5 separate regions of the Homo sapiens genome follow, and all the other regions are linked to region 5. The links are contacts of gene promoters, found by promoter capture Hi-C in human tissues and cell types (Jung and others, 2019). All regions are on one chromosome and are shown on one strand. Each heading gives the region's core, a stretch centred on a gene start or on the middle of the fragment in contact. The rest is flanking DNA. Distances are from core to core; before and after follow the strand shown.

Region 1 (4,647 bases), core at 700-3,199, 140 kb after region 5:
TCCCAAGTTTTTCTTTCCATGATTCCCTTTCACCTACATCTCTTCACTTTCAACTTCCCCTCCAAAGAACCACTCAAATATAACTTTCTGATATTTTATTCACCATTCATTCACTCAGCACTTACCAATATATATTCAATGTCTACTCTGGGTTAGACACTACTGTAGGCATTGAGGATGTAGGAATATACGAGACGGTAGATCCCTGACTCAAATAAGTTTATATTCTTTATAAATAAGTAGCCAAATAAAAATAAAAGAGATTCACTAATTGTGATGGTTGCCTTGAAGGAGGTAACCATGGAGATGATGGGGAGTTACTAGATTTGGTGGTGGGTGATGGAGGCAGTGTATTAGACAGGAAGGTCAGAGAAGGTCTCTCTCAGATATTATTCTGCTTAGATTTAAAAATCTGATAAAAACCAGTTGCATTTAAAGTCAGGGGTGAACAAGGCTCAACCTGTTGCAAGAAATGTGTCCAGAGAATGGTCTACATGTGATCAAATTATATGAGATAGGATGAAAAAGTGGGGAGGATCCTACTTATAAAAATGTCTTAAAGCCATTGTAAGATGTTTGGATTTTGCCCTAAGAACGGTGATACGCTATTGCAAAATCAGTGGTTTGACAGTTCTAAAATAATGTTTTGACCTAACAGTGTAAAGTCAGGTGTATTTCTTTGTTGACAATGCATTGTCTTGATCAAATTAGTGGTCCTACCATGAATGAAATTTCAGGCAACATGCAAAGCTATGTCTCACACTGAAGTTATAGTGAGTCTGTTAAAAATGTTTCTTTAAATCTCATTAAGTAGGCACGTGGTTATTTTGCCTAAATGAGGGGTGGTCCCTTGATAGTTTTTCCTCCCAAACACTATATTTTGAGAAACATTTAAGAAATCTGGAACATGCATTGACTTTTCGTCAGCGATATCTGTGACCTTGACATAGCCTGAAAATTTTATATTAGCTTCCAAAAATTTTAATTAATTCATTTAGAAAATTCGATTACTAAATACCATTCTCAGCATAATGCTGTATAGGTTAGTATCAATCACATCACAGAAATGGTTGAGAATAGGGAAGTTCCTATCCTGAAGTAGTCTATACATAAATATTACTAAGAGCAAGTCTTATTAGAAGTAAGTGTTAAGCTATATTTTATGTTTCATGTTCATTATTGTTTTTGGAGTCTTTCTTTAAGCTCCAAGCAACATTATCATATATCTCATAGTATAAAATTGTTGTTTTAGTTGACCTTTCTGCAACCATTTCCCTAGTTCTTGCCCATTAATTTTGGTATAGATAAATATGATATATAGCTGGTGTAGATAAACAGGATACACAGGAGGTAGATGAAAGACCACTGGACCCAGGGCTGACTTCACAGATGTGCATCCAGGTCCTGTGTTCAGAAAGACCTCACTCTGCTGTCACCATCTTGAAAAGCTTATTTATTTTTCCCTTGAACCCATGTTTCTTCAGAGAGATTTGATCGGACAATGGATTGGACACTTCACATTTTATTTTCCACTGACCTCCAAAAATTATGTCCTTTTAGAGCAATCATGTCATGCACAGGTTATTAAAGCCATCATTTCCTCTGTTTCTTTGTAATCACCAGACCATGCAACCACTGTAAATATCAGCTGGGCATCAACAGCTTTGAAAGTTTTGAGGAATGAAATAAGCTTCCACGGTGCATTCCAGGATGGTAAACTACAAATAAAATATATATATATTTTTTGTAAATTGTAATAAAACTTTCTTAAAACTGTAAATCTTTTACAAAACTGTTTTTGCTAAATTCTTATGCTGTTAGAACCAGCCTTTCAAACTAAGGGTCGGTAGGTCAAATTCAGCCCACAATTATGATTTGTTTGACCAACATAGAAGTTTACAAAATATGAATGTGAGTGCTTTTAAATGGGGCCTGACATTCCAGAGAGCCACTGGCCTAACCATTTAATTGTTTTTTACAAGATAATTTGTTTACCCTTCCTGGTCTTTCAGAGCATTTGAATTTGCAATTCTGAGCTCTAAAGTTTAATGTCTAAAACAGTGGTTCCTAAATTTTAGCATACGTGTAAGTCACCTGGCTAGCTTGTTAAAACACATATTCCAAACTTCCTCCCTGGTATATCTGATACAGAAGGGCTGGGGTAGAACTGGAAATTTCTAGCAAATTCCCAGGTGATGCTGGTATTGCTGGTCCAGGAACCACACTTTGAAAACCACTGATCTAAAACAGTAACTGCCATTCTTGCTATTTGCTATTAACTGCAATAAGCTTCATCTACTCAGTTATAAATGAGATTATCTAAATAAAACATACATTTTAATTAGTCAAGCTAGCTAAATAAAAAGTTTAGCTATGACAGCATACATTAACTGAAACAATTAGTGAGTCAGCCAAATTTTTCTCCCTTGAATAAAAAAGATCCTGCTATTCACTAGTATTATTGCAATCCTATTTCAGTGTTCTCCACTTTTTTATGCACATGCTTTGCTTTTTCCAAAATTAGTAATACAGCCTTAAAATAACCCAGTTAAAAAAGTTGTAAAGTTGTCTCACCCTCAGTAAATATCAAAAGCAACGAGGTAATGGAACAAGATTGTTAAGGCTGTTGATGATTGATTCACATTGGACAGGCTCTTATCCTACTGTCAAAAAGTGGTAAGTGCCCTAAGCCCAAGATGCCAATGTTTTCCTAGACATTTAAGAACTCAGGAATAATCATCAGATATATGCAACTCTAAGCTGAAATAGAATACAGAGTTCAACCTGGAGTCATTTCCCTCCTCAATCACCTTTTTGAGACTTACAGTCTCAAGTCAGTCAAAGAGGATTTCTCAGTAGTCATCATCAGTCATCAAACACTCACCTTTTAGAGGATATGTGATACTGCAAACTGGTGACTAAACTGGTTTTTCTCAATATAATGTGTCCTAAACTCCCTCTTTAGGTCTGCTTTCCATTTATTTAATAACTTTTCTTGGGTAATGGAATAGGAAATGACTTTAAGAGAAATTAACATCTTAATTTTCCCTTTTTTCATTTTTTTCTTTCTGCTTCTTTGTGTGAGGAGAAAAGGGTAATTATTAGCATGCTTTAATTTAAAGCACCAGTGGAATTTTCTCTAAATCTTGCCTTTAATGGGTTCATTAATTTTACTTATTTCTCTAACTATCATCAGGCTTAACTATAATTCATTTAGTTTTTATATTCAGATCATCCATTTTCTGTAATAAAGGGAGATTGTGAGAATGTGAATAAATTAATTCCACAGTCCTATAATTATGTGCATAGCTTTTTAAACCACTAGGCTTCAAATCACTTGAGGATCTGTCTCATTTATCTTTGTCTCACACAATAGTGAACATAAAGTTGGTATTGTAGTAGACATTCAATAAATGTAGATCAAATTGAAATGACCCCCCCAACACACACATAACTTTTTGCTTTCATTTCTTCTTTATTAAAGAAGGGTAATAATAATCTACATCTCGCGGGTTTCTCCAAGTGATTGTGTAAAACAATGTACTTAAAGCTCCATGCTAGGTAATAAATGAACATTCAATCTGGGTTTGCGTTTAATTATTAGTAGGCATTTTTACTACTTTCATGATTATTATTTGTATTAATGGTTCCAAACTCCCCTATGCTAAATGCTCTAATGAAGTTTATTTTCCTGAGCAAGTTAATTGAACTGGGCTACCTTGTATTTTTGTTTCTTCTGTTCAATGTTTTGTTAATTCTTTCATATTCCTGTAGTTCAATTAGTTTGATGTTGAATCTGACATCAATAAAACATTAATCTGTGGTAGATCCTGAAGACTTGGGAATATAAAATTATAAACTGTATATTTATTATATATATATATATAAACTACAATAGATCAAAAGTATACTTGAAAAACAGGACATTCCCTCTCTTTAACAGCTAATTCTAATCCCTATTGCATGTTTTACTAATACATGTCACCTCATTAAATTTCCTTTTCTCCGAAGATTTAGTCACAAAATCATGTCAGGACAAGAATTAGAAGACCTGGGCTATTCCCTACTCTCTTTCTTTGGGTCAAATAAATCATTCAGCCTTTTCAGGATATTGGTCTCCTCAACTGTAAACCGAGTAATCTCTATCTTAGAAATAATGCTGGCCTTATGGACTTGTGAACTTTCTTTACAAGGTTGCCCAAAAGGCTGCCCAGGTTGAGCACTGCACAACTCAGTGGTGCAATTCACATAGATGCACTCGGCAGGGATGACTGCTTCTTCTCCCTCTTTTCATCCATGGAGGAGTAGGTTAAGTAACCAGATATACCACTTTTTCCTTGCATTAAGAAGTATGGCCTATTACAGAAATTATTTACGCACATTACCAAAAACAATCAAGAGAACAGAGGATATTAACCACACTTAGAGGATTTACTTTCTGTTTTTACCACTTAATCCTTAAATGGAATGGCTCTTGGGGATTCTCTAGAATTGAGGATTTACAGCCAGCCATAAAGACTGTTTAGGGCAGGATTATAAAACTAAAAAAAATCAAAAATATATTCATCTAAGAACACCTTTTTTTGAGGAAAGGGTACAACCACCCACTTTTACATGCAGAATGTCCAGTAGATAGAAGAAAGCCCT
Region 2 (4,593 bases), core at 2,093-4,592, 130 kb before region 5:
AGTGGGGCTTACTGCCACCTGCTACCCCCGACTCCCCATGTGGATTCATTTGTACAGCAGAGGCAGCTATACTCCTCCCTGTAACATTACCCCAGCAGGCAGGGAGTTGCCCTCTGATCACCACTGGGGCTGCTGCTTGTACTCACAAGTGGGGAGCCAAACAGCAAACTTGCCTGACCCAGTCCCCACCTGGCTTTGCCCCTTCATCTGCCCTGGTAGTGTGATACAATGGACAGAGACTCCTGGGAGCTCCATGGCCCTGCACATTGCCTGAAATACCAGAGTACGCCACTCCCTTCCCCCCGACTCCCCTACCCATGGTAACATAAGGCAAGCACGAATCCCAAAACTACCAACACAGTTGGCATTCTTTTGCAAGTGCCACCTCCTGGCTGGAGGCCAAGTGGCACAGCCCATTACAACATCTGCAGGTACAATAACACAGTGCCCAGGAAGGAGAAAACTTGCACAACCTCAACTATCACCATTGCCTACATCACCCTGGCTAGCCAGTAGATCTTGAGTCTGTCCATGTGCCCAGTACATGACCACCACAGCCGTATTTGAGAAGGCCAACACACTAAGGCTATTTATAACCACGGAAATCTCACAGGGTCTACGTCACTCCCTTCCCACCCACAACTGAGCTGGTACTGATATCCACTGCTGGGGGACCAGACAGATCACATCACTGGATCCCTTGCAAACATTCACCAGCACCAGCATGGAGTATGGAAACCTCACTGGGGATGAGACCCAGAGGAGCAGCAGTATTCACGGTAGTCTGGCCCTCAGGGACCGCTACTCTTAGGGGTGTGGGAGTGCATCACATTAAAGGAGCATCGTATGGGACAAAGGAAACCAGACTGCAGGCCTTGAGTCCCTGATCTTTCCACTGTGGAAAGTTTCTTTCAGCAGAGGCACAGCTCATCATTTATACCTGTAACAGGAGAGAGCACAAAATCTCTCCTTCTTTCAAGCAAGCGGTTAATCAATCTTCTAAAACCAGGATGTGTGTTTTGAGCTAATCTCTGCCAGCAGAGTATCTTAAACTACTCAGCCTACTGATGAAAAAAAAATTTCACCAGCAGAGGGCTGAAAAACAATGTGGCAACACCAGAAAGTTGTCTGACATTGCCTTGATCTGAGAGGATGATAGGAAATTTTTTGGCTGATTTGATCTCTTAGTGTCCTGAAGTTTAGTGTCATTACTTACATCAAATCAATCTAAGCTATTAAAAAGAAAAGAATTCTGGTGAATGAGGCAAGATCTAAAAGTGACTTTTTAATCTTATGAGCTATCATTTTAGATTTATATATCTCATTTTCTCAAATGGCATGTATAGTTAATGAGGGTCAGGGCATTTCTCATGTATATCCTCCATGTCACTTACTGTGGGGATTTGTACTGCACTAATGTAGACAAATAATTTATTGTGAGAGGTTGTTGTTGCAAGTGGCAAGTTAGGCCACTGAATTGAATGATTAAATTCTGCGTTTAAATGAGTTCTGGAGGAGCAAGACTAGTTCCCACAATGTGAGAAGATGACTTTAACTTTCAGTCCTTTAGTCTAGTAGGTAGGAAAAAAAAATAACCAGAAATTAATTTGATTCTCTGCACCTGTACACCTGACTGCTGAGAATGATATGTTCAATTGCTCAGGGGAAGAACACTTTGAATAACTGAGAGTAAGTTAGAAATTATCACCTATACATAAAAACTAGCATGCTATATTGTAATACCTGTGATATGGTTTGGCTGTGTCCCCACCAAATCTCATCTTGAATTGTAGTTCCCATAATTCCTGTGTGTTGTGGGATGCAGTGGGAGGTAAATGCATCATGGGGGCGGGTCTTTTCTGTGCTGTTGTTGTGATAGTGGATAAGTCTCATCAGATCTGATGGCTTTATAAAGAGGAGTTCCCCTGCACAGGCTCTCTCTCTTTGCCAGCCGCATCCACGCAAGACATGACTTGCTCCATCTTGCCTTCCGCCATGACTGTGAGGCCTCCCTAGCCATGTGGAACTGTGAGTCCACTAAACCTCTTTTTTTTCCCAGTCTTGGGTGTGTCTTTATCAAACTGCAACAGAAGAGGGCACAAACTCCTCCTTTCAAGGAAAAGAAGAAAAACGTAGAGTTCAAAATGTCTGTGGTTAACCACATAATCTGAGTCTTCTAGTAAATACTATTTCCTGGGAGAAGTGTAGTTACTTTGGAAGGAATCTGAACTTTTAGTTATTGATATGCCACTTAGTATTTAAAAGACAGTGATTTACAAAAAGACTATGCAGAAAGGCCTGGGCTTTCCAAGTTTTCTCCAAAACCCCTCAGGTATTCCTGATGAGCAAGTGAAGCATTTAGAGGGTTTAACTCACCATGTATGTCTAACGTTACTACATGTAATTTATGAGTCATTGTTTTCTACTCAATAGCTAAATACTTTCACGTATTTTTACTTATGGGATATAATTGAGGAAGAGATACAAATTCAAAAAGCATCCAGAACTGAAAGCTCTTTCCATTTAATTTATGGTATATACCAGGGTTGGCAAACTGAATCTGCAGAACAAATCTGACCCATTATTTGTTTTTGCAAGTAGTTTTTTTAGAACACAGCCATGTCCATTCACTTACTCATTCTTTATGGCTAGTTTTGTGCTACAACAGCACAGTTGAGCAGTTGTGACATAGATGGTATTGACAGGATAGTTATTGACAGGATTGACAAAGTTGCAAATATTTACCATTTGGCTTTTTACAAAAGAAGTTTGCCAACCACTGATGTATATTATTAGATACATTAGTAACAAATGACATCATAAATTTCTTTCTTTTTAGCAATCATGTATACCAAGGATATAAGAAATACATCTCATTAGAAAAAAATCTTCTATTCAGCCGTCTTGCTTCACCTTCCTCTAGAACAAAATCTTATTGCCAAATAATTTAAGAAAATAATTCGGTCTTCAGATTCAATATTTGTGCCTCAGGTTTCCTTCCTAGGAATGAATTCCCACTTCAAAAAACAGACACACACATTCCAAAAGTGTTCTTTTATTTCTAGTAACATATATTGTATAAATACTCTATTTTATATGCACTTCCACAAAAGCGATATAATTTAAAAGTTTTTTTCATTAGAAATAAATGTATAAAAATAAATATGTTATTATAGGCATTTATTACTAACTATAGTCCTTCTTGGAAGGAACACCCAAACCAATACTTATAAAGTACATGTAATTTATAGTAACATATTTTACTATATACATATGGAAAAAATCATATTCTCACAGAAGAGCTGAACAGACATTCACCAGGATACGACTGTTGGACCAGCTGCTGGAGATGGACCTGCTACCCCTCAGCAGCCTCCCCACCACAAGACAAGTGATCTCAATGTCCCCAAACCTGTGGGACCCTGTTCTACACACCTCATTTTTGTTCCGGCGTTTCATCCTCCTTGTGTGATTGTACTGATTTTCATGAGACACAAGTTACTTCTTTACATCCATATTCCCAAAGCAGGGTTACATGGTAGGAAAGAAAGGAAGTTGGAGGTACTAAGCTCATTGTGTCTCCTCTAGCTTTTACCAGCATCTAATGCTTCACTGCTTTTTTTCCATTGTAGACTTTAATGCACTTGAATAAATACATGGAGTTGTTTTTTCCTCAAAATGAATTACACAAATAAAGACTGAGATGGTCCAAAAAAGGAAAGAGGAAGCCATTTGCGTTATTTCACGTTGCTGAGCCTTTCTCTCATGTTGAACAATCTGAAGTTTTAATTCTCGGTAGAAATAATGTATAAACATTCTCTGAAACCATAGCAGCCATAAACAGTGCTGGTCAAAGATCCTATTTGTACTCCTTTCTCCCCCCATTGTTAGTGAGGTAAAGTAAAACAGGTCTTAGTAAAATCTCACTTTTCTCCTACTTTTCATTTCCCAACCCCCATGATACTAAGTATTTGATAAGTACCAGGAAACAGGGGTTGTAATAGTTCTAACTTTTTTTGACAATTGCTTTGTTTTTTCTAAACTTGTAATAGATGTAACAAAAGAAATAATAATAATAATGCCCGGGGCTTTATTATGCTATATCACTGCTCAGAGGTTAATAATCCTCACTAACTATCCTATCAAATTTGCAACTGGCAGTTTACTCTGATGATTCAACTCCTTTTCTATCTACCCCCATAATCCCACCTTACTGATACACCTCACTGGTTACTGGCAAGATACGCTGGATCCCTCCAGCCTTCTTGCTTTCCCTGCACCAGCCCTTCCTCACTTTGCCTTGCCCTCAAAGCTAACACCACTTAAACCACTTAACTGCATTCTGCCATTGTGCAAAAGTCTATGAAATGTTTAGGTTTCTTTAAAGGATCACAGCTCTCATGAGATAACACCCCTCCATCATGGGACAGACACTTCAAGCTTCTTTTTTTGTAACCCTTCCCACAGGTCTTAGAACATGATGACCACTCCCCCAGCTGCCACTGGGGGCAGGGATGGTCTGCACAAGGTCTGGTGCTGGCTGGCTTCACTTCCTTTGCACACTCGGAAGCAGGCTGTCCATTAATGTCTCGG
Region 3 (4,515 bases), core at 625-3,124, 170 kb after region 5:
ATTTAAGTATTAAATATGTATTTTAAAAATATAACTGTCACAAAAAATGATCTGTTAGGTAGTTGCCCAAAGTTTGTTTGTTTTTTTCCCTTGGCTGTATGTATATAAGTTAAAAAAAAGAGAGTAAGTTAAAAATGAAATATTAATATATAATAAAATGTGATATAAAGATTCGGTCAAATATACGAAAGTGATGTAAAATTAACATCTTCAAAACCCCAACATAGAATGCCAATAAGGCTAGACCTTTCAGGGACTGAAGTGTTCCCATTCACCATTAGGCTACTTCCCTCATAGTTAAGGTATTTGGGAAATCAAACTGAACATGAAAAAGTTGATTAGCAAGCAGAAACTCAACAGCAAGGCATCTGGCTAGTTTTGATAACTATATCAGCAAGGTCATATAAAAATCTGGGATCCACTTGAGAACAATGTAGTCGAGTTCTATGATGTTGGAGATACTATATAAATACATTTTACGATATTCAGTAGCTCCCTGTATTATCAGGAGATGGTCTTTATAGGCTTAATTTTTAGGAAGGTCCAGAGAGCCGGCTCCTGAAAAATTAACATGACACCCTTGAAGAAAACAATGTTTATGTTGACTTCTGAGGAAGACAAGCGTCCTGGGAAAACAGGCACTCAGCCTGTGGGAGGTGTCAGCAGAAAATGTATCCCCAACAGGAAATACCAGGCTTTAATCAATGGAAAGGTGCTTTTATTGAGTACAAAATAAGGTCATATTCCATTTCTGCTCTCATTTCTCAGCCCGCTCTTTCCTAGTATGTAAAATAACTTACAGAGTTGCTTGGAACATTAAACAAAATAATGTCATATGGCAAGCACTCAATAATAACATTATGATTACTTGTCCTGAGAAGCTGGTCATATGTTGTGTGTATGTTTGAGAATGGTGATTGCGAAATTGAAGAAACCATTTTACTTGGAGGGACCTGTGGGGAATGTGGGCAGCCTTAAGCATAGATCTGAAATCACTCAAGGGAAAACATTCCTTCTACTTTGGCACTCTGGCAGCAACAGCTGCTGTGGTAAGCACTGAGGTCCTGGAAGCAACAAGGCTGAAGTGGCCGTGAGGAGTAGACAGGAGTGGGATGAAGAACACCTTGAGCTTCCAGGGAGTTTCTGGGGAGAGAAAGAATGAATGATTTTAAGTCCCAAAGTAGGGCCTTGAGAGCAGCATAACATGGTGCTGAGCTGATAGACTCTGAAGTTCAGCAGGATCAGTACTAATTGTGTGGCCTTGGACAAGTTATTTAACCTTTTGAAATCTGTTATCTTGTCTGTAATGTAACGAGGATGGTGATGGGAATGACTGTCTCAGAACACTGCTGTGAGGATTAAATAAGAAATCTGGGTGAAGTGCCCAGCTCAGTAAAAACACTCAGTAAATACTGGCTCAGAAGGAAAAAATAAAACAAAATGTAAAACAAACAAAAATAAAGCATTGTTATCTCCAAGGCTGTAGTGTAGAGAAACAAAAGAATGCATTTTTATAACTGAATGCATTTGTCCCAAGTCTTGACATTCTGCACACAGTGGATCCATAGTCACATATAAAATGCATGTGTCTTTCTTTTTTCCTACTGAAGCCATAGGCCCCTTTAGATTTTGGCACTTACTGTGAAAGCCAAACAGCAGGAATTTCTTGGCCACATTTAAGGTGATTGATCTTTTATTTTCAGAATATCTTTTGTCAGAATGTCGGTGAGTTGCATCTCTGCACGTAACCTTGAAATAAAGATGAGCAGCTTTTCTTCTCCACACTTAAAGTGTCCTTTATTTCCAGGGAACTAGCGACATGCTAATATCTCTGAAAATATCTTCCTTAAACTATTTGATAAGATGCTTCACAGAAATAGAAAACAAGGGGACTGAGTACCAGTTGCTCTAGAGAGTCACAGCCTTGAAGTTATGAGCCCCTAGGGAAAGGCCACTGGGAAAGTGCTGAGCAGACTAAGGAAATACTTCAATCAGAGCAGAATACCAAGATAGTTGCCTATGGGTTAGATTTAAAAGATTAGTGGAATATACCTCACTGTTCACAGGAAGGAAGGCTATCACTGAGGGTCTTCCTATACTGGAATCCTCATGGAACAAAGAAATAACATTGAAATGTTGACATCCAGGCTTGTATACAATAATTTTAAGATTTTCTGCCTCTATTTCTAGATTCTTGAGTATTTAGTTATGGTATTCCCAATGCAAAAATTAATCCTCAGGCTATGAAGGACAAATCTGGCTTCAAAAGTACTAAGGCATCAAGAAAAAAAGAGAATTAAGTCAACTAAAAGAAGGCTAATGCCTGAATGTATCAATCGAATTGGTTTTATTATGATTGCTTTGGTCCATGTAACATGAAATATTTACACAAATTGGAAAAGCTTGCATAGGTCCTTTTATTTGCATTTGTCAGCTCTATTGTCCTTCTGAACTCACTATGCAAAGAGAAAATTCCTTTTAAGCATTGAGAGGATGATGAAGGCATGCTTTCTAGTTCTACTCCTTCTCCCATTCATTCATGACATATTAAATGAGAGATAATGCTCAGGCTAAATACATAAAAGGAAATTGGTCAGTCTGCTCCAAAAAAGAAAAAAAAAGTTTGAGATCTAGAGAAAACAGGAGAGAGAGAGAGAGAGAGAGAGAGAGAGAGTGTGAGCTTAAGAAACATCTATCTGAATTCTGAAAAGGGAGAGATTAACAACTAGAAAGGTGTGAGTGACTTCCTGGAGGTCTTGGAAGGCAGTTTGGTGGCTATGGATGAGAGCAGAGTCCAGCTTCAGATGGCTGTTGTTCAAATCAGACTCAACTGTTTGCTAATCATGCAATGTTGGTCAAGTTACTTAGTATTCTGGGTCCTAATATTCTTACTTGTCAAAAAGTGGTAATAATACAACCTACTTCAATGCCCGGATATATTAATAAATTACAAAGTGGAAAGCACTTAAAACACTACGTTACATTTAGTCAACTCTACGTAAGTAGAGTTTCACAGTAAGTGCCAAAATCTGAAGGTACCTAAGTCAATAGGCCTGCCCTGAACTCAGGCAGGTTCCATTAATTTACATGGAAAAGTATGCAAATAAATTAGGTTTTGTGTTCTTGTTGTCCTTGTGTGTTCCCTCATGAACTTGTTTTCTGACACTACAATGCTAAGATTACGGTATTGACTATCATCTCTTCCCCATCTTGTGTACATTTGTAAAGATGCATGTTAGTCTTGGCTGCCAGCCATACCATCTGGTCCTAGTGGTTAAGGGAACAGAGAGGTAACTGAGGAGATAATTTTTTTTAAAGTGTTCATGAATTAGATATGTAAGAACTAGTTCCTTCTGAATCAAATTATGAAAGTTAGTATGTTTGGAATAAAAATAGCTAAGGATGTTTAAATATGGACATTTCTGAAGTAATCCTTTTAACTCTGTCCTTCACCTAAAGTAACAAAATGGAATGCTGAGACTAATTTAATTTTGATAGCCTGAATTTCTATGCTGTTTTAAATATAGTTTAATCACATAGCTTGTTTAGGAGGACATCTGTGGTTTAATGGGAAGTTGATTGGAATTGGAATTAGAATAATGCTTTCCAAACCGTTGTCTGTAGGAAACAGGTCCCGCAAGATGTTTGCAAGTGTTCTATGAAAAGAGATTTCTTCAGCAAAATAAGTAGGAAAATGTTGAATTAGCAGATCTCATTTCAGAACCCAACTTTGCCATTTATAGGTTATGTAACTTTGAAGGAGCCGCAAGTTTTCTGAACTCCACTTGTAATATCTCACAAGTTTGTTTGGCTTTTTTTTTTTTGGTGGAATAAATAAGATCATGTACATGAAAGACCTGAGAAATGTGTCCTTGATATATGTCAATGGACTCAGCTTCAGCATTCCAATGAAATGGGCCTGAAATTGGGCGCTGTTTTTCATGTGGTTATCATTCAAGTTTAGAGAGAAAGTAATGCCTGTAGGATATGGAAAAATTATCAGGTTATTAGAAAGAGTTCCATCTGCTACTTCTGACTTGGATATAAATAGAAAAACTGCTAATCCTAAAAAGGTTTTTTTTTTTAAAATGCTTGTTTTAAGGGCATATTTTCTCTTTAATGCTTTTTTTCTATTAAAAAACCCTTATGTATCTGTTTTACCAACCGGTAAAGCAAACCAAAAAATACAGAAAAACCAAACATCAGAAGAAAAAAATAATCTCACGCTTTATGATGTTAAACCATCAGTCAAGAATACATGCGATTTTAAAAACAGTGAATGTACTTAAAGCTATGAATAGTTATGAAAAATAGTGATTGAAATATTACTATGGGCTTAGAAAAAAAACTATGAAAAATAGTGGTTGAAAAACTAGTATTATTCAAAAAGCAAAACAGCTAATACCATGTTGGAAGATATGTGAAACAAGCAGAAGTCTCACATGCTGCTGGTGATGATATAAAGAGGTACAACCATTCTGGAAAACTATTTGGAAGTATACACTAAAGCTGGAC
Region 4 (4,364 bases), core at 422-2,921, 220 kb after region 5:
AGTAGCTGGGACTACAGGCGCCCACCACCACACCCAGCTAATTTTTGTATTTTTAGTAGGGACGGGGTTTCACCATGTTGGTCAGGATGGTCTCGATCTCCTGACCTGGTGATCTGCCCCCCTCGGCCCCCCAAAGCACTGGGATTACAGGCGTGAGCCACCATGCCTGGCCACGTTTCTCAACTCTTGATGAGGACAGTATAACCTTGATATCAGCATAAAACAAGAACATTATAATATAGGGAAATTACAGATCAATTTCTCCAATGAACATAGATAAAAATATCTTAAGCACATTGCATCCAGCCACATTCAAAAATGGTAATATGTCAAGCAAGTATGTTTTAACATTTGAAAATTAGTTGTAATAATTCACTATGTTAACATAAAATTCACATGTTAACATAACAAGGGAGAAAATTCAACACACACTTACGATTAAAAAATCTTTACAAACTAGAAATAAAAGGGAAGTGATGAACAGTATCTACAGAAAACTTTGTAGCCAGCATTAACCTTATCATCCCTTATTGAAAACTTTCCACCTGAGATTGGAGAAGAAAGATTGACAATTTCTAATATCACTTTTCATCAACATTATACTAGAGAGAAACTATATAAAGATTGAAAATGAAGTAATAGTTTTAATTGATTGCAGACTATTATTGTGTACCTGGAAAATCTAATTTCAAAACTATATTAGAATTAATGAGTAAATTTAGTAAAGTATCAGAATGTAATAATAATATACAACATTTCCATTTCTATAAACCAACACTGTACAGAAAATGAAAGAGAATATTAAATACATAGATGCAAATTTTAAAATGATGCCAAAGATTTCTACAATCAATGCTATACCATCTTATTTAAATAAACTTAAGAAGACCTAAATATATCTAGAAATAGACCACATCCGTATATTTTATTGTAGATGCAAGACTCTGGAAAGTTGTCAATTATTACAAATCAATCTATAATTTTAATTCAATCCTAATCTAAACTTAATCAGCTGATTCTAAAATGTATATTAAATTGAAAAGATCAAATAATTGCCAAGAAACTCTGGAGAATTGATAACACCAATTATTAAGACCTGTTACAAATCTATAGTAAATAAGATTTGTGATATTGGGGAAAATGTCAGCAAATAGACCAATCACACAGAATACAGAGTTCAAAAACAGAAGAATTATATGCACTTATCTAATGTATGACAATTTTTTTTTTTTTTTTTTTTTTTGAGATGGAGTCTCACTCTGTCGCCCAGGCTGGAGTGCAGTGGTGCCATGTCGGCTCACTGCAAGCTCTGCCCCCCCAGGTTCACGCCATTCTCCTGCCTCAGCCTCCCGAGTAGCTGGGACTACAGGTGCCCGCCACCACGCCCGGCTAATTTTGTTTTGTATTTTTAGTAGAGACGGGGTTTCACCGTGTTAGCCAGGATGGTCTCGATCTCCTGACCTCATGATCTGCCCGCCTCAGCCTCCCAAAGTGCTGGGATTACAGGCGTGAGTCACCGCGCCCGGCCTTGAATATTTTAAAGAAAGATTTTTTTTTTTTAAAGAACATACGACATCTCATATGTGGCTCACAAAGCCTAGAATATTTACTAGTTGGTAAATACAGAAAATGTTTGCTTATCTCTGTCCTACAGTGTAAAGATCATTACTATTAAAATCAGAAAACTTTGGTTAGTATTCTAGACCTGTCACTGACTCGCCTAGCTTGACTATATGTGGCAGTGACTGGGAGGCACACTAAACCAGAACTAAGTGTATCCCCTATTCAACTTCCTCTTGATGGATCTCAAGTATTCCTGCAATCACTTTGACAACATTCTATGCCAGGTGAAGTGTGACGAAGATTAAGTGAGAGTGAAAAGACATGGCCCTCTTAACCAACTACAGTAAAAGTAACTTACTTTTGTGAATCTTTTAAAAACATGTGGTTATGTGAACCCACTTCATGGTCATGTGAACCCGCTGCTGACCCTCTCCCGGGGCGCTGGAAAGGACCTACTCAAATGAGCACCCCTGAAGTGTAAGTTTTATTTGCTTGCTGTTTCATGATCGACACACCCCACATGCATGCACATGCTTACATGTACACACACACAAACTTATTGCACAGGTATAAACAGTCGTTTTTGTGCTTACCTTTTTTTGCTGTAATGAAATGTAGACTAGGAAGTTATTATCTATAATAAGTGAATAAAAGGCTATGGCCTTTAAATTAATTATTTTATTGAGTGATTCTTTACAATCAGTCTGTAATTTGAAGTTTATTTCTAGAGTGGAGAAGTGGAATGAGAAAAGAAAAAAGGAAAATTTCCTAAAGTATCAGCTAGGCCCTGGGTTTCAATACAACACTAGCTGTGGAACTAACTGGCTGTGTGCCCAACAAAACAGAATAGGTGACTTTTAATGGCCTGAAGCTCTCTTGGAAGTGGCCATTAAGAGCAGTCAGTTTGGCAAGTCCCATTTGCCTATGTTCCTAACACTCTTTGGAACCCAGCCCATCGGAACTCTGTAAAGTATGAACATGCTGTGGTTATAAAGAAATATGGCCAAAAGTGAATCAGCTCCACAAAGAGATTATTCTAAAAGCCCAGGAATGTCTTTTTCCCCTAATGAATAAGTCAGTGGAGCAGTTGATGTGAAAGTTAAGGTAAGGTAAGCCATTCAATAAAATATGTAGTTCAAGAGGCATGTATTTCAATGCTACTTCTGTCACTATCAGCTTGGGGAAAGTTGGGCGAGTCACTTAACCTTTCTAAGCTTCAGTTTCTTTATTTTATATTTGTTATCACTAAGATCTTTCTGGCTATAAAATTCCATTTTTCATAATGTGGAATCTCTGTTAACTGTCTTTACTCATAAAGGAAAATCAAATATTGTTATTCTCTACTTACAGTCCCTGTGTGCTGTTGAAAAGTGGAGTTTCAAGGTTAAAATAACAGGTGTCTCGCAGTTTTTTAACCATTGTGGTTAAATATGTAATTGGTAAAATGAAAATTAGTATCTATTTCACAATTCGTTGAAATAAAACGAAGAAAGTCAGTAAGCGTAGCTTAGTCTCTTCTGAAACCTTTTACTTTCTACATTCACATCAGTCCTACAGGACGGGTACTGCCCTTGAGGAGGAAGCTAGCAGTTTGGGGGGTAAATTAAATTATTGGCTATGGTATTAGCAATGCAATTAAGTCACTTCTTGTGATCTGCCTTTTATCAGTATTATATGAGATACTCCTACAACCCCACATGCATGTTGATTCGTGTGCCCTTTCAACTATTTCTCTACTTGATAGGAAAAACATAAAGGTAATTGATCAACCACTTAAAATCAAAATGAATATTCAGTTGTTAATTTTATTTTTTTTCTATTCAAGTCTTCAAAAGACATTAAGAAACATGCTCTATGGTTGGTACCAAATTTTGGAGAAATCTGTTAAAAATTCAAGAGAACAATATGAAACTTTACATTTAGCCTTTTTTCATTAACATAAAATATGCTTGACTACAGTCAGTTCTGTTACAATTGACTTTTTAATGTGAATGTGAACTTACATATTAAATTAGTATAAAAATGTTGTTCTTGTCACAGTTTTATGAGTTGTTGATAATCACACATGAAGCAGAATCAGCTATTGATGTTATTTCAAGTTAAGTTAAAAGTGAGGATAGGTTAGTTCAGTATTATTTTGTGATTTTTTTTTCCTGCATATTCAGGAAAATGACCTTTCCCCTTATGTATAACAAATTGTTTTGGCAAGATTTAAGATATGATTGAAAATCTTAAAATGTGAATGAATTTGGTCTTAGAGAATACCTCTGGGGGGTCTTAGAGAATACCTCTGATTTTCAGTAAGTTAAGTTTATTACTGCTATTTTTTGATAAACTCTCAATATAAACAAACGTCTATATGAAAAGAGAAAGCATCAAAATATGTTTTATATACTTCTAAGTCTTTGCAAATCTGTGTAATATTTTTAGCAAGAACAGTTTCTGTGTAGCATGAAAACATAGCATGATGGCTTCCCTGTGTTATTTCCCATTTTGTCAGGGGAGTCAAGTAACTGCCAAGACCACATTGGTGGGCTTATGAAGGGTGATATCCCATACTCCCCACCCATAGTGAGTCATTCAATGGTGAGGTTCCTGAAGGGTGGAAAGAGTCTCAGAGTTCTGAGGCCTCTTGAAAGCAAACATACTTTGAAAGTGCAAGTCTGTTGTCCTACAGACGATCCTAAATTTGCAAGGATTCAGTGACATGTGGTTAAGACATCTTGAACTCATTATTGGAAAACTTGAAAAAAATTAGGATGGTTTCTGCCACACACTATTTTTTAAAAAAAATATGATTA
Region 5 (4,127 bases), core at 496-2,995:
TGGTTGTGTTGGTGCTGCCACTTGCAAAAGTTCTTGAGTGTGGTGGCAGCGTTCTTGCTCACTTCCAGGCTCTTGTCCTTGTCGCCTAGCACCACCACCTTCACCACGGCCAGGCGGATGTGGTTCTCGATGCTAGCATGGCTGTACAGCCTATTGGCGATGGAGGCCAGGGTCAGCAGGTAATGCTGCAGGCCCCGGCCATACAACCGCGCCATGGACGCGTCAGCCACCAGAAGCAGCTCCACCTGGCGGGCCCGGGAGATGGAGCGGCGCCGCCGCCGCCACCACGTCTGCGGTCCTGAGCCCCCAGCGGGCGAGAGAGCGGACTGGTCCAAGAGCTGCGAGGCCAGTGCTGCGCGTCCGCTCGGGTTGCTGTGCGCCGGAGCATGCTCGTGGGCCTCCGGTGTGGACGCGGGGGTTTCGCAGCTGGCGCGCGGCGGCAGGGCCTCGAAGCTGAAGCCCTCGCGGGTGTAGACGTGCAGGATCCGTGCGGACCCATCCCCGTACACGCGCCCCTTTTCTTCCTCCGCCCAGGGTCCGCGCAGCAGTGGCTTTAGGGTGTAGCGCGCGTGCTTGACCGCGAAGAAGCCGTCGAGACCCCCACAGAGGTCAAAGACAGCCAGAGAGCGGGGACTACCGTCCACTGTGCCCCGATAGAAGCAGTGGCTCCGGTGGCGCCAGGGCGCACTCGTCCCGCCTCCTGCGGGCACGAAGCCAGCAATGCCCACCGAACCATCTCGCTCCAGGTCCAAGAGGAACCTCCGGCCGCCCGCGTAGACGAGGTAGCCCACCTTGCCGCCGCCGGAGTAGAGTTGGTCGATGTTCTGCACCAGCCCCTTGCTCCTGCGCCGCTGCGCCAGGGGGTGCGGGTGGCCGGGAGGCTCGGCTCGCTCCTGCACCTCCTCCCCCTGCCGCCGGCGGGGCTGGGCGGCTGCTGCAGCAGTCGGAGGCTGCCCGGCTTTATCCTGGGCAGGTGTCGCGGCGGGGCCGACCGCGGCCAGGGGCAGGCGGAACGCGCACAGCAGCAGGGACGCCCACCCGAGCAGCATAGTGCGCTGCCCGCGGGGAGGGGCTGCGCGACTGGGACTTTATGGGTATTTGTTATTTGCTATGAAGTTAACGGGGCGGGGGATGGGGACACACACACACTTGCTTGCAGGATTGAGTCAAGTGTCGGAGGGAGGGGGGCCCGGCAGCAGCGCCAGCCTGTCCGGGCTGCGGTGCCAGCGTGCGAACTTTTCTTTGTTGCTTGGGAAAATGTTTGGATTCGTGCTCCAGAAAGAGGTGGGGTGGGGGGGGGGGGAAAGAAAAGATTAAAAAAAAAAAGTCGGATAGTGGAGATTCAGCAAATACGGGAAAAGGAAAAAAACAAAAACCAAAAAACCACCAAATGCAGGCACGATCGCTGTTTCAAGAAAAGTAAGGAAAGGTACCGCGCACCGGGCTGGCAACTGGTGCGCGCAGCCTCCCGCCCCCGCGCTGCGCTGGACAAGCCGGCTGTGGAGGTTCCAAGCTCCGGGGCCCACTTCCTTTCTTATTTTGTGGGTTTCCTTGGCTCTGCTGGGACCAGGAGGAAGGGAAGAAAGAGAGGGGAAAAAGCCGTAAAAATTAAAACAAAAATGCAGGGGGGCAGCCTGAGGCGAGCTGGTGAAGCGGCGTGTCTGTGTCCCTTCGGCTGCGGTCTCCTCCTGCCCGCCGTCATCCCCAGTCGGCAGCTGCGAGCGCCGAGAGCAGCGCGAGCGCTGTGAAGATGCGAGGAGGTGGAACAATGAATTTATAGCGGCATGCCATCCTGCAATGGCAATTTCAACAGTTCGTCACTGCACGCTGCCTCTTAAAGGGAGAGCTTCCCCCACCACTCCCACCCTTCCCAGTCCGCGCCTAATCAGATGGGGGAGGGCAAAAGAGGAGGGTGATCGAGGAAAGGGAGACGAAGTAGGAGGAAGGGACTGGGACCCGGCGAGGTGGTAGGAGGGGAGAGGGGAAAATAAAAAGTAATGGGGCAAGAAAAACAGATTTCCTTGGCCACTTTTAAAGCCACAGCGGCTCCGGGTCTGTCTGATATTTCACAACCAATTGGGGTTGGCTAACCTTGGCTTACCTCATCTCCTGAACGGGTGTTTTGGTTAAAGTTATTGAGACGTTTCAAGTCTCTCCCTGCCTCCTTCTTGCCTGCTTTTCTCGCCCTCGGTGGGAAGTTCCTGCCGCAAGTTTTTCCCCTTTGCACACCCGTGCGCTCTGGCCTCGCAGACCGTGCAACTCCATCCACCAGCCAGAGCTTTTCAGCTTCCCGTGCGTCCCCTAACCACCGCGTTCCCTTCGCTTCCTCCCCTCCGTCCCGGCACCCGGTTTCCTCCCTCCCCATTCTCCAGCCTCTTGATGCTTTGACGCTCGCCGGATTCGGGCTCCGGGTGACTAACTTCTCCCGGCCACCAGCAGAGCGGCTGGACAGCCAGAGAGCCCAGGGCGCTTCCTGGCGCGCTGCGGTACCCCGGGGCGAGAACGCCCGCCGCTTGGGAACTCCGCAGCTTTGTGTGCGAACGGCGGGCTCCCAGCTTTCTCCAGCACGCCTTTCGTCAGGGTCCACAATCTGTCCCTTACTCCCAGCCCACTGGAACTTCCTTTGCTCTAAAAAGGCAGAGCGAGAAAGAGTTAACTCTTAGAGGGAATTCCGCTCATTTTTTTTCCCTGAAAGATTTTAAAATTTTGCGCTCATACTTTTATTTTTTGCTTAAATGATACTTTAATAATAAATTCCTATATCTGTTTTTGTCTCTTCTAAAGCAACCACTTATCGCCATAGGCCTTGACCTACCTTCATTCTCAGAAATTCCTTTTAGAAGAAAAAGAATACTTTTGGCGGAAGGAAGATTGGTGCTTATTAGTACGCGGGTGACATTATCACTGCTACTCGTTTCCTCTGACCTCTTTGTTTCCTCTAATTATCATTCTAAGAAGGGAGAAGGAAAACCCGACGACTTATGGTTAGAAGGTCTACCTTCTACTGTAGGGGTAAGAGCTCCCTCCATGCCCAAATTATTCTTCAGGCTAATTAACTAATGCACCAGTGAAAAATGAATGTGGTGTAATTTGTACATTTCCATCTTTTTCTACGTTTAACTTTGGCTACGCTGGGGATAGCAGGGCGGGTGCCTTAATGGGGCCCCAAGCTGATCGCTTTCTCTGGGAGGGAACCATGAGGGTCCAGAGCTTGATGGAGGTTCTTAGAGTGGCAATAATCCTCTGGAAGGAATTTCAGAATTGCCCGGCAACAATACCCATTGCCGTGTGCCTGGGAACACCCTCTGGAGTCTTGTGAGGGGCAGATGTATCATCTTGTTTTAACTTATAAATAAAGAAATCACTGGGGCCTTAGGGACACCCAACAGCCCCTGATAGATTCTGAAATACATCAGGACCAGGGAGGAAGTTACTATTGCTGAAGGCCATTGCTTTATAATTCCACAATGCCTCAGCCTCTCAGTGGCCAGTTGACCCAGGCCAATGCTAACAGCTGGATGGGTCAGAATAGGAGGTTCCAGCCATTTTCTCTATCCCACCAAGGCCTTTGAGCCTTGCATTAGCCGTTCTCTTTTGTGGTCCTTGCTTTGCACCTACAAATAGCAAACTTTTATCTTTTTAACCAGTTACAGTGAAAAGGAGTCCAATATTTGGCACTAAACACCATTTCTAATACAACCTTGATTCAATAAATTTAACAATTTTGTCATTGTTCATGCCAAAGAATCATTTTAATAGGCATTTTAGGTGACAGTGGTTAAAATTTGTTAATTACAATTATTTTCATTCACAGATAGATTTTGTTATTTAGGATTTCAGGAAATTCCAACAGATTCTCTTTTCTTTGATGGTCTTGAACTCATAACCTCCAGGGATTCTCCCACCTGATGAGACACAGTGACGGCTTGAATTTTCTTCTTAATGAAGCTTTTCTCCTCTTTCACAAACACCGTGCTGAATCCTGAATCTGAATATTATGCCTTTAAGTTTAATTATATAGTGACATTTGTACTCAGTTTATTCAAATATTTAAAAATACATGGGGAGAACAGGATAGACACAGATAAAGTTCCAAACATGAATATCAAGCACAGAATATTTACTAG

The links. The method cuts DNA at HindIII sites, captures the fragments that hold promoters and counts their contacts. A contact is called where the count stands out against the background at its distance.
Region 1: a contact is called between a fragment that was not itself captured here and the fragment with the promoter of ADAMTS5 in region 5, in 8 of the 25 tissues and cell types used here (H1 embryonic stem cells, IMR-90 fibroblasts, aorta and 5 more).
Region 2: a contact is called between a fragment that was not itself captured here and the fragment with the promoter of ADAMTS5 in region 5, in 1 of the 25 tissues and cell types used here (H1 embryonic stem cells).
Region 3: a fragment that was not itself captured here is called in contact with the fragment with the promoter of ADAMTS5 in region 5 in 2 of the 25 tissues and cell types used here (heart left ventricle and mesendoderm cells).
Region 4: a contact is called between a fragment that was not itself captured here and the fragment with the promoter of ADAMTS5 in region 5, in 4 of the 25 tissues and cell types used here (IMR-90 fibroblasts, mesenchymal stem cells, mesendoderm cells and 1 more).

What each region holds. Positions count from the first base shown.
Region 1 is chr21:27,109,547-27,114,193 of GRCh38, forward strand. No RefSeq gene overlaps it. Among named protein-coding and RNA genes, the nearest start is that of ADAMTS5, 140 kb to the left of the region's middle. The HindIII fragment of the contact is 3,693 bases long and covers 104-3,796 here.
Region 2 is chr21:26,833,248-26,837,840 of GRCh38, forward strand. It overlaps ADAMTS1 (ADAM metallopeptidase with thrombospondin type 1 motif 1), which reads right to left. Exons shown (of 9, transcript NM_006988.5): 9 at 2,508-4,593. The coding sequence ends at 4,332. Among named protein-coding and RNA genes, the nearest start is that of ADAMTS1, 9.9 kb to the right of the region's middle. The HindIII fragment of the contact is 8,671 bases long and covers 1-4,593 here.
Region 3 is chr21:27,131,481-27,135,995 of GRCh38, forward strand. No RefSeq gene overlaps it. Among named protein-coding and RNA genes, the nearest start is that of ADAMTS5, 170 kb to the left of the region's middle. The HindIII fragment of the contact is 5,679 bases long and covers 1-4,515 here.
Region 4 is chr21:27,188,265-27,192,628 of GRCh38, forward strand. The region is part of intron 2 of LOC102724355 (a long non-coding RNA gene); the gene reads right to left. Among named protein-coding and RNA genes, the nearest start is that of ADAMTS5, 220 kb to the left of the region's middle. The HindIII fragment of the contact is 7,167 bases long and covers 1-4,364 here.
Region 5 is chr21:26,965,343-26,969,469 of GRCh38, forward strand. ADAMTS5 (ADAM metallopeptidase with thrombospondin type 1 motif 5) reads right to left here and starts at 1,746. Exons shown (of 8, transcript NM_007038.5): 1 at 1-1,746. The coding sequence starts at 1,049. It overlaps LOC124905050, which reads right to left. Exons shown (of 3, transcript XM_047441063.1): 2 at 2,102-2,628; 3 at 1,314-1,742. The coding sequence ends at 1,314. The HindIII fragment of the contact is 10,779 bases long and covers 1-4,127 here.